Regions from separate parts of the Homo sapiens genome. Here all the other regions are linked to region 1. The links are contacts of gene promoters, found by promoter capture Hi-C in human tissues and cell types (Jung and others, 2019). All regions are on one chromosome and are shown on one strand. Each heading gives the region's core, a stretch centred on a gene start or on the middle of the fragment in contact. The rest is flanking DNA. Distances are from core to core; before and after follow the strand shown. Region 1 holds the start of TBC1D13 (TBC1 domain family member 13). Region 2 overlaps LOC101929270 (a long non-coding RNA gene). Region 3 overlaps SPTAN1 (spectrin alpha, non-erythrocytic 1). Region 4 overlaps NUP188 (nucleoporin 188).

Region 1 (4,133 bases), core at 703-3,202:
ATTACAGGCAAGTGCCACCAAGCCCAGCTACTTTTTTATATTTTTAGTAGAGACTAGGTTTCACCATGTTGGCCAGGCTGTTCTCGAACTCCTGACCTCAGGTGATCCACCTGCCTTGGCCTCCCAAAATGTTGGGATTACAGGCATGAGCCACGGCACCCGGCCAGAAGTTCTTGCTGGCAAAGTTACAAGGGCAAAAAAGTGACAAGAAGCTATGCAGAACACGTTGGGATATTTTTTAAAACAGGCAAAAAGAGAGTTATCTTTGTGCTCATTGGGGCAAAGTCTAACACAGCAGGATCAGCTCCTTAAAGTCAGTGTCCCAAGGCTACCCATTTTACCACTAGCCAAGGTTTAGTTCAGGCAGCTTAGACCCCAAGCCAGGGAGAGAACAAGGAACAACCCTGCAGTTAACCAAACTCACCAACACAGGAAGCTAGCTAAGGAATGAGGAAAGACTGTCCTGGGCTCAAAAGGTCCCAACTCTCATTCTCCAGGCTTCAGTCCTGTCCTGTTACTCTCAGGAATCTGGCACCTCCTGCGGAAAGCTTAGGAAAGCTTAGGGCATGCTAAGTGTGGCCACTGCCCCTCTGGGAAACCCCTCCAAGCTCAAGGCAGTCACTGCCTGTTCAGCTCTACAGAATCTGGAAAAGGCCCCAAGAGTCTGTGTGTAATTTCCTTCCAAGGCCCCAGCCCCCAGCAGCTGGGCCCCAGAGCTGACCAGGTGTGGCCTCCCCCTGTATTCTAGCCACAGGGCTGCTGTAGGGAAACCGTGAAAATACAGAATGGCTTCTTACCACTAAAGCTGAGTTCCCGCAGCTTTTCCAATGCAATTGAGGGCTCCTTCAGGACATCCTGGAAATCTGCAATTCTGGAAGGGGAGATAGGGCGGCAAATGAAGCATGCTGATATCGGCTCAGTGAGACCCACAGCCCTCAGCTCCCTCACACTGCCAGTTTCCAACCTGTGCCTCTCTCCCCTTTAGGACATAAAAATCACACAGCTTAGTCAAGGTCCTCACCAAAGACAGCTTTGGAGAACAACAAAACTATATTTCACTTCTTCCTCTACAACCAGAAACACAGAATGCCAGGGAAGAAACTTGAGAGATATTCTTGTCTAGAAGTTCCCAAATGAGGACCATAAAATTAGACATATTCCAACATTCTAATACTTAGTGAGCTGACATTTACTGGGCACTTCCTGCCGGCCAGGCCGGGTCCACGCACAGCCACCAACTGAACTCCTTGGACCTCAGGAACCAGGAGTAATTTGATATGCAGACAATGGACCATGCTCACAAATATAACCATTACAAGACCTCTGGGCCTGCCAGAAGGCAAGGACAAAGGGTTTAAAAAACACGTCCTGAAGGAAAACTGAAGAGTGAGCAAAATTCAGCCAATGCTGCAGGATCTGGCCTGGGGGAGGGGCCAGACTGGAGAATGCAAGTTCTCTAGCAATCCTAGTAAGAAAAAGGCACGGGGGACAGGGTGCACTTGGAGAGAGTACGGGAGCAGGGGGATCAAAAGGGGGAAAGGCACGGGGGCGGGGCATGGGGGTCTGGATGAGGAAGACTCAGGGGAAGGGGGACACCAGGGGTCCAGGATGAGGGAGGCAGAAGCAGTGACATCAGGGGCAGGAGAAGGGCCGCCCCTCCGTCGTTCCTGCAGCCCACAGGCAATGAGGTTAGAAGGTGGACGCTCGAGACCCTCTGCCGAGGGGGTCTGCCGATTCCTGGCCACACCCGCGCTTCCCCCTTCTGAGGGGCAGAAGGGGCAGCCTGGCCAGGAGTGGCCCAGCCGGGTCAGGCCCCATGGCCCCTTACCGGCTCTTGTGCAGACTTGACATGGTGTTGACTTCCGGACCCCCCAGCCGCCTCCGCCGCCTGCGCCTCTGCCGCCTGCGCTGCCGCCGCCGCCGCCGCCCCCCAGGGACGCGGGGCTCTGCGCAAAAGCCTCCGGCGGGAAACACAGCCACTAGCCTGCGCGTTCCACCGCCTCAGCCCCGCCCCGCCCCGCCAGTCACGTGCCACCCCTCGACTCTCACGCTTCCACACGGTACTGGCGGCTACGGCCGGCCGGGTTGAGCGGGGCAACCTCGGGTCTGGTGGGCGTGGCAATCGCGGGCCGGGAGCCCCAGCGCCGCCGACCCTGCGGGCCAAATTTGAGAACCCGCCGGTGACAGCGCAGACTGTGTGTCTCTGGACTATTCCTTGCGCTTCCCTGGGCCTCAGTGTCTACTTACGCAATATACCTGTCACCCTGTCGTCTTCCCTGCACTCACCCCCCTGTAATTAACTACTGCATGATTGTTACAGGAGTCTCGGCCTCCCCTGCTAAACTGTTCAGGCCCCCCAGCTTATCTTGGTCTCTGCAGAATCCTCAAGGCCTGTATAGCAGGGACTCGCATGAACCGCCGTGCGCGGCCCAACTTTTTTTTTTTTTATAAAAACTATACCAGCAAACCCTATAAAATGTAAGTTAGGAAGAAAGAAAAAAACACAAATGATATCTTAAGAAAAATAGGCTGGACCGGGCGCGGTGGCTCATCCCTGTAAATTCCAGTGCTTTGGGAGGACGAGGCAGGCAGACCACTTGAGGTCAGGAGTTGGAGACCACTCTGGCCAACACGGTGAAACCCCGTCTCTACCAAAAATGCAAAAATTAGCCGGGCGTGGTGGCAGGCGCCTGTAATCCCAGCTCCTCGAGATTACCTTCTTTACAAAAGATGTAAAAATTAGTTGAGTAGGCCGGGCGTGGTGGCTCACGCCTGTAATCCCAGCACTTTGGGAGGCTGAAGCGGGCAGATCACCAGGTCAGGAATTTGAGAACAGCCTAACCAACATGGTGAAACCTCGTCTCTACTAAAAATACAAAAATTAGCCGGGTGTGGTGACGCACAACTGTAATCCCAGCTACTCAGGAAGCTGAGGCAGGAGAATTGCTTGAACCCGGGAGGCGGAGCTTGCAGTGAGCCGAGATAGTGCCACCGCACTCCAATAGCGCCACCGCACTCCAACCTGGGCAAAAACGCAAGACCCTGTCAAAAAAAAAAAAAAAAGAAAAGAAAAGAAAAGAAACTGCTTAAAGATTTTCCGAAATGGTTGTATTATTTAACACCTTTTTCTTGAGAAAAAAAAAAAAAGAAAGAAACAGCTAGCCAGGCGCGGTGGCTCACGCCTGTAATCCCAGCACTTTGGGAGGCCAAGGAGGGCGGATCATGAGGTCAGGAGATCGAGACCATCCTGTCTAACACGGTGAAACCCCATCTCTACTAAAAAATACAAAGAAAAAAATTAGCCGGGCGTGGTGGTGGGTGCCTGTAGTCCCAGCTACTCGGGAGGCTGAGGCAGGAGAATGGCATGAACCTGGGAGGCAGAGCTTGCAGTGAGTGGAGATTGCACGACTGCACTCCAGCCTGGGCGAAAGAGCGACACTCTATCTCAAAAAAAAAAAAAGAAAAAGAAAAAGAAAAGAAAGTGCTTAAATATTTTCCAAAATGGTTGTATTATTTAACACCTACCCCAGCAGTATATGAGAGTTGCTGTTGTACCACGTCCTCACCAATACTTGATGTGGTCAGTCTTTTTAATCTTAGACATTCTAGTAGATGTGAAGTGGTATCTCCTGCTTTAACATGCATTTCCCTAAAGACATATGATGTTGAGCATCTCTTCACACGTTTGCTATGCATATATACTCTTCTTTCTTTTTTTTGAGACATGGTCTCACTCTGTCACCCCAGGCTGGAGTGCAGTGGCGCAATCTCAGTTCACTGCAACCTCTGCCTACTGAGTAGCTGGGACTACAGGCGCATGCCACCATGCCCAGCTGATTTTTGTATTTTGAGGTAGAGATAGGGTTTCATCATGTTGGCCAGGCTGGTCTCAAACTCCTGACCTCAAGTGTCTGCCCACCTCAGGCCTCCCAAAGTGCTGGGATTACAGGCATGAGCTACCATGCCTGGCCTTCTTTTTTTTTTTTCTTGAGACGGAATCTCACTCTTGTTGCCGAGGCTGGAGTGCAATGGGGTGATCTCCAGCTCACGGCAACCTCTGCCTCCCGGGTTCAAGCGATTCTTCTGCCTCAGCCTCCCGAGTAGCTAGGATTAAAGGTTCATGCCACCCTGCC
Region 2 (4,133 bases), core at 946-3,445, 240 kb after region 1:
GGCAAATCACGAGGTCAAGAGATGTAGACCATCCTGGCCAACATGGTGAAACCCCGTCTCTACTAAAAATACAAAAATTAGCTGGGTGTGGTGGCGTGCATCTGTAGTCCCAGCTACGTGGGAGGCTGAGGCAGGAGGATCGCTTGAACCTGGGAGGTGGAGGTTGCAGTGAGCCAAGATTGTGCCACTGCGCTACAGCCTGGCGACAGAGCGAGACTCCGTCTCAAAAAAAAAAAAAAAATTACTTGCCAAACTTATTTGACTATCAAGCCCTTTTTTTGAACCCTGCAGAAAAGCACTCTGGGATTTAAACCATCAGCTGACTGGCTGTCAGGCCTTTGGACTTAGACTAGATGAAATAAGTCTATCTGTGCTCCTGTAACTTTTAGCTCAACCCATCAAGTGCTCCAGGTGCTTAAATCGCATTCTCGATTGAATTAAAATTCTACCTTCAAGTCACCTATGTTGAAAACATGTTTAGAGTCAACATTCCATCCTTGCTACAGGTCGATGGCTTCAAGGTAACCTTAGTCACCAGGGTCCTGTTTTCAGGGTTGTAGGTTCCAGAGGTTGATTTTGTCACCTCATCAGAATTGTAAGCATGTTTTTTTGCAGGGTGAAAAGAGAGGTATCTGTTAATTTTGAAATAGTTTCCAATTTACAGGAAAGTTACAAGAATACTGGGAAGAAATCCCATATACCCTTCACCCAGATTCCCCCATTTGTTAACCTTTGACCACATTTGCTTTATTATTCTATGTTTACATATATAGACACACATAACAGCTGTATACATATACATTGTCATACACACGTGTATACATATATATGTATACACATATATATCCCCTCCCCCCAGTCATTTGAAAATAAGTTGCAGGCCGGGTGTGGTGGCTCATGCCTGTAATCCCAGCACTCTGGGAGGCCGAGGTGGGCAGATCACCTGAAGTCAGGAGTTCAAGACCAGCCTGGCCAACATGGCGGAACCCCGTCTCTACTAAAAATACAAAAATTAGCTAGGTGTGGTGGGTGCCTGTAATCTCAGCTACTCAGGAGGCTGAGGCAGGAGAATCGCTTGAACCCGGGAGGCAGGGATTGCAGGGAGCGAGATCACACTACTGCACTCTAGCCTGGGCGACAGAGCTAGACTCTGTTTCAAAAAAATAAATAAGTTGCAGACATCATGCCCACTTACCTCAATGTATATTTTCCAAGAATAAGAACATTCATTTTCATAACCACAGTACAATGATCAAAGTCAAGAGATGCATGTTGACACAGTACTATTATCTAATATACAGGCCTTATTCAAGTTTTACCAATTGTTCCAATGTCCTTTATAGCAAAAAACACACCCACAGAAATATCTTTATTTTTAGTGCAGGTTCCAATCTAGGATCACATGCTGCACTGAGTATAAATATCCTGAAAGAACTAAAAGAAAAAAAAAGTTCTTGAATACATCCTTCTGGAAAAAACTGATACTTTCTTAAATGGAGGCTGGCTTTAAATGAAAGGATAAATCCCTTTATAATGGGTGTTTTTGTAAATGCATCACATAGCCAGGAAGACTATAGTTCTAATCTGCTTTTTTTCCCCCTAGAGATAGCGTCTCACTCTGTTGCCCAGGCTGAAGTACAGTGGTACAATGATGGCTCATTGCAGACTTAACCTCCTGGGCTCAAGCAATCCTCCTGCCTCAGTCTCTCAAGTGGCTGGGACTACAGGCGTGTGACCTGTTTTTTTTGTTTGTTTTTGTTTTTTTTTTGAGACAGAGTCTGGCTCTGTCACCCAGGCTGGAGTGCAGTGGCGTGATCTCGGCTCACTGCAAGCTCCACCTCCCAGGTTCACGCCATTCTCCTGCCTCAGCCTCCCCAGCAGCTGGAACTACAGGCGCACGCTGCCACGCCTGGCTACTTTTTTTGTATTTTTAGTAGACACGGAGTTTCACCGTGTTAGCCAGGATGGTCTGGATTTCCTGACCTCATGATCCGCCCGCCTCGGCCTCCCAAAGTGCTGGGATTACAGGCGTGAGCCACTGCACCCGGCCGGCTGTTTTTGTTTGTTTTTTTTTTTTTTTTTTTTTAAGAGATGGGGTCTCACTGTATTGCCCAGGCTGGTCTCAAACTCCTGGGCTCAAGTAATCTTCCTGCCTTGGCCTCCCAAGTCGCTGGGATTGCAGGTGTGAACCACTGCACCTGGCTTAATCTACTCTCTGTAGGTCCACTGGAAATCTAATGTCAGGAATTCATTAGGCAGGATGAAGAAAAGTGAAGGGGATTACCAGGTGTGACATAGGCACTTGTAAGAAGCTCTGTGGCTCTTAGTGGAGCTTTTGGTTTTCCTGACACTGAGATAGAAGATGTCCAAGCCTAATTTTGTCACTGCTATCATCATAGAAAGCTGGAGAAGTAGGGGGAAAGCTCCTAGCACATGGGTGGGAAATCCTCAGAAATCTATTCTTCTATGTAAGGGAGGTGTAGAGTTTCTGTCCTCTTGGAATTTTTAATTTGTCATCAGATTTGCTTTAGCAGGACAATAATGTGACAAAAACATGGATCCTCAGCCTGATAAATGAGGTCAAGTTTGAAAGCAAGAAAGGAGACAAGTGAGTATTTGAATTAAAGCCGAAGGCAGTCCTTAGTATTCTGCTGTAAGGAGTCTGATGCTACTTTCCATCAGGAGCTGCATCTCTCATCTAGTAATCATTATCTCTATCCGTCAGTATCAAAAACCTGGACTCCCAGTGCTCTCCTTTCTTGGTTTACCATTGAAATCCATTAGGAATACCAGCATCAAATGACATATGCAAGACCACTAACCACTAGAGGAAGAATATTCAAATAATTCAAAAATCGTAAGAGGTATTTCATAAATTTTCTTTTTAATTTATTTATTTAAAATTTTAAAAATTTATAATAGAGATGGGGTCTCACTATGTTGCCCAGGCTGCTCTTGAACTCCTGAGCTCAAGCAATCCTTCCACCTTGGCCTCCCAAAGTGCTAGGGTTACAGGCATGAGCCATCATGCCCAGCCTAAGAGGTATTTTCTATGAAGTAATACAAATCCAAAGTGGAAGAGAAATTATAGATCATCTCATCCAGTGATTTTTCATTTTGTTTTTGACAGATGAACTTTTCCATACATAATCTTACATGGAACCATAATATATCATACAGCACATAAAACAAAAAGGCTGTGGCAGAGAGGATCCCAGAGCTCCATTAGAACCCCTAAATGGTTGTGCAAAACATGAGCTGCACAACTCTGGGAGGTACCATGACCTCCATCATAATTTTACTTTATTTTTTAAAGCTTTTCAGTGAAGATTGGAAAACCTGCTAGACAAATTCTAAAAGAGCTGTAACACTCATAGATTTGTACAGTTATTAACAGGGCAGTTGTCCAATAGAGGGTGGTAGTATCTTGAAGGAAAAGGGATGCCTTTTGGAAATTTGCTTTAAGCCTCTGTATGTTGACTGGCTACAGGGCTGAGCCCCATTCACTCAACATCCCCCTGTCCTGAAGTCATTGCTTCCCAACCTATTCCCTGTCACGGTACCTAGAAAATGATGCCTTTTTTTTTTCTCTTTTCTTTTTCAGATAGAGTCTTCCTCTGTCGCCTAGGCTGGAGTGCAGTGGCGCGATCTCGGCGCACCGCAACCTCTGCCTCCCGGGTTCAAGCGAATTCTCCTGCCTCAGCCTCCGGAGTAGCTGGGATTACAGATGTGCTCCACCATGCCCGGCTAATTTTTGTATTTTTAGTAGAGATGGGGGGGTTTCACCATGTTGGCCAGGCTGGTCTCGAACTCCTGACCTTGTGATCCACTAGCTTCGGCCTCCCGAAGTTCTGGGATTACAGGCATGAGCCACCACACCCGGATGAATTATGCCATTTTTAAGGCAAAGGTAAGGAGAGGAAATGTGAATGGAACCGCTCCTGGGGGCTCACCCACCACAGGCCTTGTCTGGGAGGGCTAATGAGGTCATCATGCCAAGGCACACCAGCTGGGAAGCTCTTCGCTAAGGAACTGCTATCAAGCATAGTTTGAAAACTACAGTGACATGTCCAGTTCTTTTGTTTTACAGGTGGGGATACTGAGGTTCAGAGCGGGTGAAGGACCTTCCCAAG
Region 3 (4,133 bases), core at 637-3,136, 220 kb after region 1:
GTTAGGGATACATCATTTGGCACCTTGCCCATTCTCTTACCTGCTCAATTCCTCAAATACTCTGACTGCATTTCTCCTGGTCCTCTGAAAGCCTGGCCAGCGAGGGCCATCAATGGTCCTCACTCACCATTGAGAACTAACATTGTCAATGGAAGATGCTACAAAATATCCTATTAATAATTTTTTGTTTTTGCTATCAGAAAATTAGCCTTTATGTGAACATCCAGTCCCTTCTAGAAATACAGAACCATACCAACAGTTTTCTCAACATTCAGTGCTTACTCTTGAAAAATCCATCCATATTCACTCACACATGAGACTTTCTTTCACTTGCTTTAGAGGCCAGACTCTTTGACCCTGCCTACACTCCATTTCTCAATACCTCTTTTTCATCAAATACTAAGATGGGAAGGGGCCTGCCAGGCAGGGATTGTACCTAAAGCAGTGTTCTTCATTCTCTTCTTAGGTTACTGTAATCAATTTTTTATAGTTAAAAAATCCATGGGCCCAACTACTGTTCCACTTGCTACCGAAACAATTTTCTTTAAAAATCTTTCACTGAAATAAGTGAGAAGAAAGGCTTTCCCTTTTTATAAAAAAAGTTTTGGCCGAGTGCATTGGCTCACGCCTGTAATCCCAGCACTTTGGGAGGCTGAGGCAGGCAGATCACCTGAGGTCAGGAGTTCGAAACCAGCCTGGCAAACATGATGAAATCCTGTTTCTACTAAAGATACAAAAAATTAGCTGGGCGTGGTGTCGCGTGCCTACATTCCCAGCTACTCGGGAGGCTGAGGCAGGAGAATCACTTGAATCTGGGAGGCAGAGGTTGCAGTGAGCTGAGATTGCACCATTGCACTCCAACTTGGGCAATAAGAGCAAAACTCCGTCTCAAAAAAAAAAAAGTTTTAAATATATAATTTACGTACCATAAGATTCAGGCTTTGCTTTTGATAAGATTTACCAAGTCTCTGAAAGGGACTCATAACTTTAAGTACTTATTCTTTGATATCTGACTCCAGAATAACTATAAATTTTTGCCAGCAACATCACTATTATGCCTTCCTCAAAAACTCATTCCAGGCCAGGTGTGGTGGCTCACGCCTGTAATCCCAGCACTTTGGGAGGCCAAGGTGGGTGGATCACCTGAGGTCAGTTCAAGACCAGCCTGGCCAACATGGCAAAACCCTATCTCTACTAAAAATACAAAAATTAGCTGGGCACAGTGGCAGGCGCCTGTAATCCCAGCAACCTGGGAGGCTGAGGCTGGAGAATCACTCGAACCTGGGAGGTGGAGGTTGCAGTAAGCCAAGATCACACCATTGCACTCCAGCCTGGGCGACATGAGCGCAACTCTGCCTCAAAAAACAAAAACAAAACAAAACAAAACAAAAAACCTCATTCCAAGAGATTAACCCAGAACTTCCCTGAAAAATGTTTAAAGCTCACCAGTAGTATCAAGGCAGAGGTTTGAGAACCATCAGTTTAAAGCATCCAGAAAAGACAATTAATACCTCTAAGATTCCACATTCACCCTCACTAATACAGGAAAACAATGAGTTTGTCCTTCCTTATTATATTCTTCTTGTCCAATCTCTCAAGGTCATAATTAAGTAACTTTCCTCGTCTGATTTTTGGGTAAGAACATTTGGGCTCTTGAATTTTGGCAGGAATCCCAGGAGATCAGACGTACCTGCAAGTTGGTTGGGTCTTTATAATTCTCATCAGATGCAATCTGAAGTTTTTCCTGTATCCATTTCTCCAGCTCTTCAGCATCTCTTTGAAAGAACTGGAATCGATAGGAATCTTCCAGCTTCTGACGCCTAAGGGTTGAGAGTTCCTTGAAGCGGTGGTATCGGTCTAGGACCTGCTGCCGCCTCTCCTGGATGTCCTCTGCTGTTTCCAGCACTTTGACCCCACTTGGGTCCATTTTCTGAAATGACAAAATGCGCTGAGATAAGTACCAATAGGCACCAAAATAGATGAAAAGTAATTAGCCTCTCTGAAGGAAAGAAATAATTATCAGATAAACCCAGGAGACAAATGAATTGAGAAGACAGCCCCTTCTTAGGAACAATGAAGCCCAGATCCTATTTCTTTATTAAAAACGGCCATCCATTCCCCTGCAACACCTACCTACATAGGGCCCTCAGAAGATGCCTAACCCACACACGGCAAGGAAACCAAATGAAAACTGTGAATGGGAGAACTATGGTTTGTACTGTCAATTCTACAAAGGCTTCAAGGATTCAGAGGAAACAGCAACTGTGGTATTCAAATAATCACTGCTAAGTCCATTCAGAAGTCCTTTCAAGCAGGGGGTGCGGTGGCGCACACTTGTAATCCCAACACTTTGGGAGGCCAAAGTGGCAGACTGCTTGACTCCAGGAGTTCGAGAGCAGCTGGGCAACAAGGTGAAACACCGTCTCTACTAAAAATACAAAAAAATAGCTGGGCATGGTGGTGTGTGCCTATGGTACCAGCTACTCAGGAGGCTAAGGCAGGAGGATCACCTGAGCCCAGGAGTTCAAGACTGCAGTGAGCCATCATTGCACCACTGCGCTCCGCCCTGGGTGACAAAACAAAACAAAAACCGAAAACAAAGAATATGCCATTTTATCCTCTAACTAATTAAGGAACACAGAAGGAAACAGATACAGATTAACGCCAAAAAGCTTCTGAATTTGTCAGCAACATGTGACCTCACACTAGCCACCTTCCCTCTCCATGCCTCAATTTCCTAAAGTGACTAAAAATGTCAGGAAAAACGACGTGCTCTCAAGTCTCTTCGAACTTCAAAATTACAGCCTATAGAGAGGTTTTTGAGTTCACTAAGGAAGCAGAACAGATAAGCCTGCTGGTCCCTTCCAGCTATTGTTCTACAATGTATAATAAAAGGTATAAAATTGTGTTACCCTGGAAACATCTGGGAGTTCTTTCCTTTATCCTGTCGTCTATCCCAAGACAGAAAGAAAAGGGTGAGTAGGCTAAGAGTTAGGAATGAAACCTGTCAAGAGTGCTGCCCCACATCCACCTAGCAGGTAAACAGAAGGAGATGGCTGATGTCAGAGTTTCTAGCTAGTGCCCCAGCTCTGTAGGGATTCAAGCAGTTCTCATTGGTGGTAGGAAGGCACTGTCTGTGCCTGATCAGATCTGAAGATTGCCTTTCTAAGAGACCACCTTCCTGGAGAAGTGTAGATGAGCTGATTTTAGTCATATCACCATTCCTTTAAATTATTCTCCACATATCAACCATGTATTTTTGTTGTATTATTGTTTTTCCACAGTCCAAAATGTTTTATACTATAAAAGGAAACATTCTTCGCCATGCCACTCCCAAATCTTTTATGGCTTTTTTTTGTTTTTTGTTTGAGACGGAGTCTCGCTCAGTCACCAGGCTGGAGTGCAATGGCATGATCTCAGCTCACTGCCCTCTGCCTTCAGGGTTCAAGTGATTCTCCTGCCTCAGCCTCCCGAGTAGCGGGGACTACAGGCCTGCACCACCACGCCCAGCTAATTTTTGTATTTTTCGTAGAGATGGGGTTTCACCATGTTGGCCAGGATGGTCTCGATCTCTTGACCTCGTGATCTGCCTGCCTCAGCCTCCCAAAGGGCTGGAATTACAGGTGTGAGCCACTGCCCCCGACCTATGGCTTCCTTCAGACAGAAGAAAGAACCCACCTCTTGAGCAGGACCTTCACAATCTGGCCCAACATGCCTGCCTGGTATTATCTCTCACCCGTGACCCCTACCCTTGTGGCGGATAGAAGTATTCTTTCTGCTCTAAAATGTGTAATTCCCTTTAAAACTCCAAGCCATGTGCACATGCTTCCTTTGTTTAGAATGTCCTATGACTCTTCTTTGCCTAGATAGCGCTTATTTATTTATATCTCAACACCCAGCTGAAATGGGTAAACTGCAGGATCCTGACTCTTTACTAAACTGTACCCAATGTTCCTTCCTTCCCTCCTTCTCAGACGTAATCACACTTCTCTATAGATTTGCAAAGCAATTGTACATACATCCTAAGGTATGATTACACCGAGCAACCTAATATTTGTATACCAGATTTTTATTTATTTATTTATTTGTTTTTGAGACAGGACCTTATTTTGCTGCCCAGGCTGGAGTGCAGT
Region 4 (4,133 bases), core at 730-3,229, 190 kb before region 1:
AAAAATAAAATTAATAAACCTAGGCTAGATCTGAGACATATGTGGTTCTCACTAGGGAATATGGCCCACCACCCTAGGACTTGGCTCACCTAATCATCTGACTCAGGCTGGAGACAGGATGGGCCACAAATGGTAAAAAACCTGTGTGACGAAGATCAGTCCAGACCTGAGAAGGAAAAGGAAGAGTTAAATGCCCACATATCTTCAGGTATGTGCCAAGTGCTACATTTTTGGCTCTTGGGAAGATCTGGCATCTCACCTTTGCTGGATTGCGGGCAGCCAAAACAGTTAAGCAGTTGACACAAGAAGCAATGACATCCACAGGTGGGGAGATCACTGTCGTTAACCTGGTTGGAGAACAATACACTATACTCAATAAAGCAAATAATACAACTGGTTCCCTCACAAACATTTTTCCACTTCTCTCTCCCCAGTCTCTCCCCTCAGCAGACATATAAAAACAGGAAAACCCTCACAGATATAAAAACAGGAAAACCAAGGAATATGCGCGAACTTTAACCCAGTGGGTATGTGTCCAGGTTCCTGCAAACTGAGGGCACAAGTGCTGAGATCTCTACTGGGCAGCTGAGGGTCAGCCAAGACAGACTCACCGCTGCAGCAGCATGTAGATGCGAGATGTGATGGGCAGGAGACAGTCTGCTATCGACAGGTCTGTACTGATGACCTTATGGACGAGATCAATGATGGGTTTGACTCGCTGGCAGTGCTGAATCACATCTGAGAAGAAAGACAGCCTGTGACCTCACGGCAAACAACCCCTTTAAGATCACTGAACAGTCTCTGAGACCCAGATACACAAATCAGACAAATCACAATCTTGATGGTTCTAAATTTTATGTAGATATTCTATTTTCTAAATCCTCCAAGCATATCCACTTTTCCTCCTCGTAGGTGATGTTTCCGAAAGCTGACCTTACCTGCAGTTGAAACAACATGAAGCAACATTTCAATCTCGCAGGTAAAGAGGGTCCAGCTGCTATAGGAGTATTCCCAGCGTACCAGGTATGCCCTATCATCCAACATTACTTGGCCCACAGTGCCTTGAGGTATGCGAAGGTTGGTTTGACCCCCTGAGAGAGAAAGATAAATTAGTCTAATATCTGAGGATAAATAAAAAATGTAACTCCTCTACCAGACATCAATATTTTAAACACACAGAGATACACAAACTCACAGACATTTTTTTTTTTTGAGACAGAGTCTCCCTCTTGCCCAGGCTGGAGTGCAGTGGCGCGATCTCGGCTCGCTGCAACCTCCACCTCCTGGGTTCAAGTGATTCTCGTGCTTCAGCCTCCCAAGTAGCTGGGACTACAGGTGCGCACCACCACTCCTGGCTAATTTTTGTATTTTTAGTAGAGATGGGGTTTTCCATGTTGACCAGGCTGGTCTTGAGCTCCTGGCTTCAAGTGATTTGCCTGTCTTGGCCTCCCAAAGTTCTGGGATTCACAGGCTTTCTTCTTAGTAGCTAACATTCCTAAAGCTTTTTCAACTAAAATACACAAAAAAGTTCTTGTCATGTAGACAAGTGTCTTTTTTTTTTTGAGATGGAGTTTTGCTCTTGCTGCCCAGGCTGGAGTGCAATGGCGCGATCTCAACTCACTGCAACCTCTGCCTCCCAAGTTCAAACGATTCTCCTGTCTTAGCCTCCCGAGTAGCTGGGATTACAGGCATGCACCACCACGCCCGACTAATTTTATATTTTTAGTAGAGACGGGGTTTCTCCATGTTGGTCAGGCTGGTCTCGAACTCCCGACCTCACGTGATCCGCCCACCTTGGCCTGTAATCCCAGTGTTGGGATTACAGGCGTGAGCCACTACACCTGGCCGACAAGTGACTCTTTCTATATGTCTGAAAATCACTTGAGTGCAAAGAACAGTTTTCCATTCAAATGATGATAACAACAGTACCTCATAGGACTGTTAGTGCCTAGATGACTGGAGAAGTCAGTGGTGATGATGCCAGGATTAAAACGGTGAGGCTATTCCCTGTATATTTTCCTCTTTGAGCACCTGGTACAGATGTGAGCCTCAGAGTGTAACTGCCTGGATGCATTGGCTCACGTCTATAATCCCAGTGCTTTGGGAGGCTAAGGTGGGAGAATCACTTGAGCCCAAGAATTTGAGGCTGCAGTGAGCTATGATCTTGCCACTGCACTCCAGCTTGGGTGACAGAGCAAGACATCAAAAAAAAAAAAAGCTGTCATAAAAGGGGGATCTCTTTATCTCACCAAGGGGATAAAGGAGTTTGGGTGTTTGTCTCCGCCAAAGAGTTCCATCTTCATGGGAGATCACATCATGAGGCTTGTGTTTATAAAGTTCATTGTAGAAAGACATCTTATCCAAGAAGCTATACACCTGCCAAAACAGAAAAAACCATCACACATTTCCCTCCAGGATAAGCAAGGAGAGGTCCCACAGTCTGCTCTTTCAACCAGACTCTCAAACTTCTTGCAAGCCCACCACTGTGACTGTTCTTGGAACTGCCTTCTGCGCCCCTCGCCAAATCTTCACTGGGCTTTAACACTCAACTCAAGTCCCCATCACTCCACAAGGGCAGTTATCTCTCCTGAACAGTATGGTCTTTATTGCTCAAATGACATTTACTCTGTACCACCTGGCTCTTAGCTATTTATTTCTTATATCTAGTAACTTCCAACTAGATATTAAGGAACTTTATACTTAGTCTTAGTCCCACAGTATCTACAATAGGTACTTAATGAAAAGATTATTTAATTTTTTAGAATTGAGGTGCTATCTTTGGTATCTTTCATTCACCTTCAGACAAACTTTTGTCATGGCAGTAGAACTGCAATGTGGAAAGCAAAAAAGATTCCTAATAAAGTCTCCATAAAGAATCTCCCATTCTCTTTACTTATCTGACTAAGCAACTTACCTTTTTGGCTGTGGACTTCCCTGATACCAGGGCTCGGAGCAGTTGCAGGAGTGGGGAGAGAAGGTGGGGAAACATTCCACACACACTGTCCAGAATGATCCCAAGGCCAGAAGTTGGCTCCTGTGGTGGAAGGGGACAAATCACTGATCTTCACATTATCCACAAATTAACATCTCTCCAAATTTCCCAGCAATCATGAGAAAATTTAGAATTAATCCTTCCTTTTAGACAGATATCATCCCTCCTTAATAATTTAAGACTTTCATATTTCCACTGAAAAAGGATATAAAATAATTGATTTAGTGAGGGACCTAAAAAAAGATTACTATTCTATCCAGTGACCTCTTCCCAGCCATCCTTTCTATGGGAAGACAGTATTGTTCACCTGTGCATTACATGTTTCCACTAAAGTGCAAATTACCCAACTATGTCAGCAGTTGGCTACCACACAGCAACCACAGATCCTCACTCTAGATACTGTTTCATACCAGCTTCTCCTTCTCCCAGGAGCACTGTGGTTCTATAACATCAGACAGCATCTTACAAAAAAGAGGGTAAAATACACAGGTAGATCATCAGTTGGATCTTGAGGTTTGAGACTGTTGTCAATGCTCAGAGCAAGTACTGGTGAGAAATTGTTCTTTTCAAAGCCAAATTCTCACTCTAACTAGTTACAATACCCTGACAACTCATAGGCTACGGTTACAATCTCCTAAAAGCACTTTCAAGAGCTGCAGGAACACTGGTGTCTAAAACACTGCCATATATAAAAACAAAAAACTGGTGGGTTGGAAGGCCGGGCTCAGTGGCTCACGCCTGTAACCCCAGCACTTTGGGAGGCCGAGGCTGGCAGATCACGAGGTCAGGAGATCGAGACCAGCCTGGCCAACATAGTGAAACCCCGTCTCTACTAGAAATACAAAAAATTAGCCAGGCATGGTGGCGGGCGCCTGTAATCCCAGCTACTTGGGAGGCTGAGGCAGGAGAACTGCTTGAACCCGGGAGGCAGAGGTTGCAGTGAGCCGAGATCGCGCCATTGCACTCCAGCCTGGGCAACAGAGCAAGACTCCATCTCAAAAAACAAGACAAAACCAAAACAAAAAAAAAAACCTGGTGGGCTGGAGACAGCACACTGGTAATAACGTGGGCTGCAGACTCAAGTCAGACAGAACTGGGTTCTGGCTGCCTCTTTCTATGTGTGACTTTGAGCAAATCACTT

What was found. The method cuts DNA at HindIII sites, captures the fragments that hold promoters and counts their contacts. A contact is called where the count stands out against the background at its distance.
Region 2: a contact is called between a fragment that was not itself captured here and the fragment with the promoter of TBC1D13 in region 1, in 1 of the 25 tissues and cell types used here (IMR-90 fibroblasts).
Region 3: a contact is called between a fragment that was not itself captured here and the fragment with the promoter of TBC1D13 in region 1, in 2 of the 25 tissues and cell types used here (dorsolateral prefrontal cortex and thymus).
Region 4: a fragment that was not itself captured here is called in contact with the fragment with the promoter of TBC1D13 in region 1 in 3 of the 25 tissues and cell types used here (H1 embryonic stem cells, heart left ventricle and pancreas).

What each region holds. Positions count from the first base shown.
Region 1 is chr9:128,785,072-128,789,204 of GRCh38, reverse strand. TBC1D13 (TBC1 domain family member 13) reads right to left here and starts at 1,952. Exons shown (of 12, transcript NM_018201.5): 1 at 1,829-1,952; 2 at 798-871. The coding sequence starts at 1,851. RefSeq lists a silencer at 1,815-2,304. The HindIII fragment of the contact is 9,895 bases long and covers 1-4,133 here.
Region 2 is chr9:128,543,156-128,547,288 of GRCh38, reverse strand. LOC101929270 (a long non-coding RNA gene) reads left to right here. Exons shown (of 4, transcript NR_188457.1): 2 at 3,605-3,910. It also overlaps the pseudogene RNU7-171P. Among named protein-coding and RNA genes, the nearest start is that of SPTAN1, 7.4 kb to the left of the region's middle. The HindIII fragment of the contact is 3,945 bases long and covers 223-4,133 here.
Region 3 is chr9:128,564,535-128,568,667 of GRCh38, reverse strand. SPTAN1 (spectrin alpha, non-erythrocytic 1) reads right to left here. Exons shown (of 57, transcript NM_001130438.3): 2 at 1,691-1,930. The coding sequence starts at 1,927. Among named protein-coding and RNA genes, the nearest start is that of SPTAN1, 14 kb to the right of the region's middle. The HindIII fragment of the contact is 4,499 bases long and covers 1-4,133 here.
Region 4 is chr9:128,979,507-128,983,639 of GRCh38, reverse strand. It overlaps NUP188 (nucleoporin 188), which reads right to left. Exons shown (of 44, transcript NM_015354.3): 14 at 2,915-3,034; 15 at 2,250-2,376; 16 at 939-1,091; 17 at 612-738; 18 at 260-347; 19 at 90-166. Among named protein-coding and RNA genes, the nearest start is that of NUP188, 34 kb to the right of the region's middle. The HindIII fragment of the contact is 8,140 bases long and covers 1-4,133 here.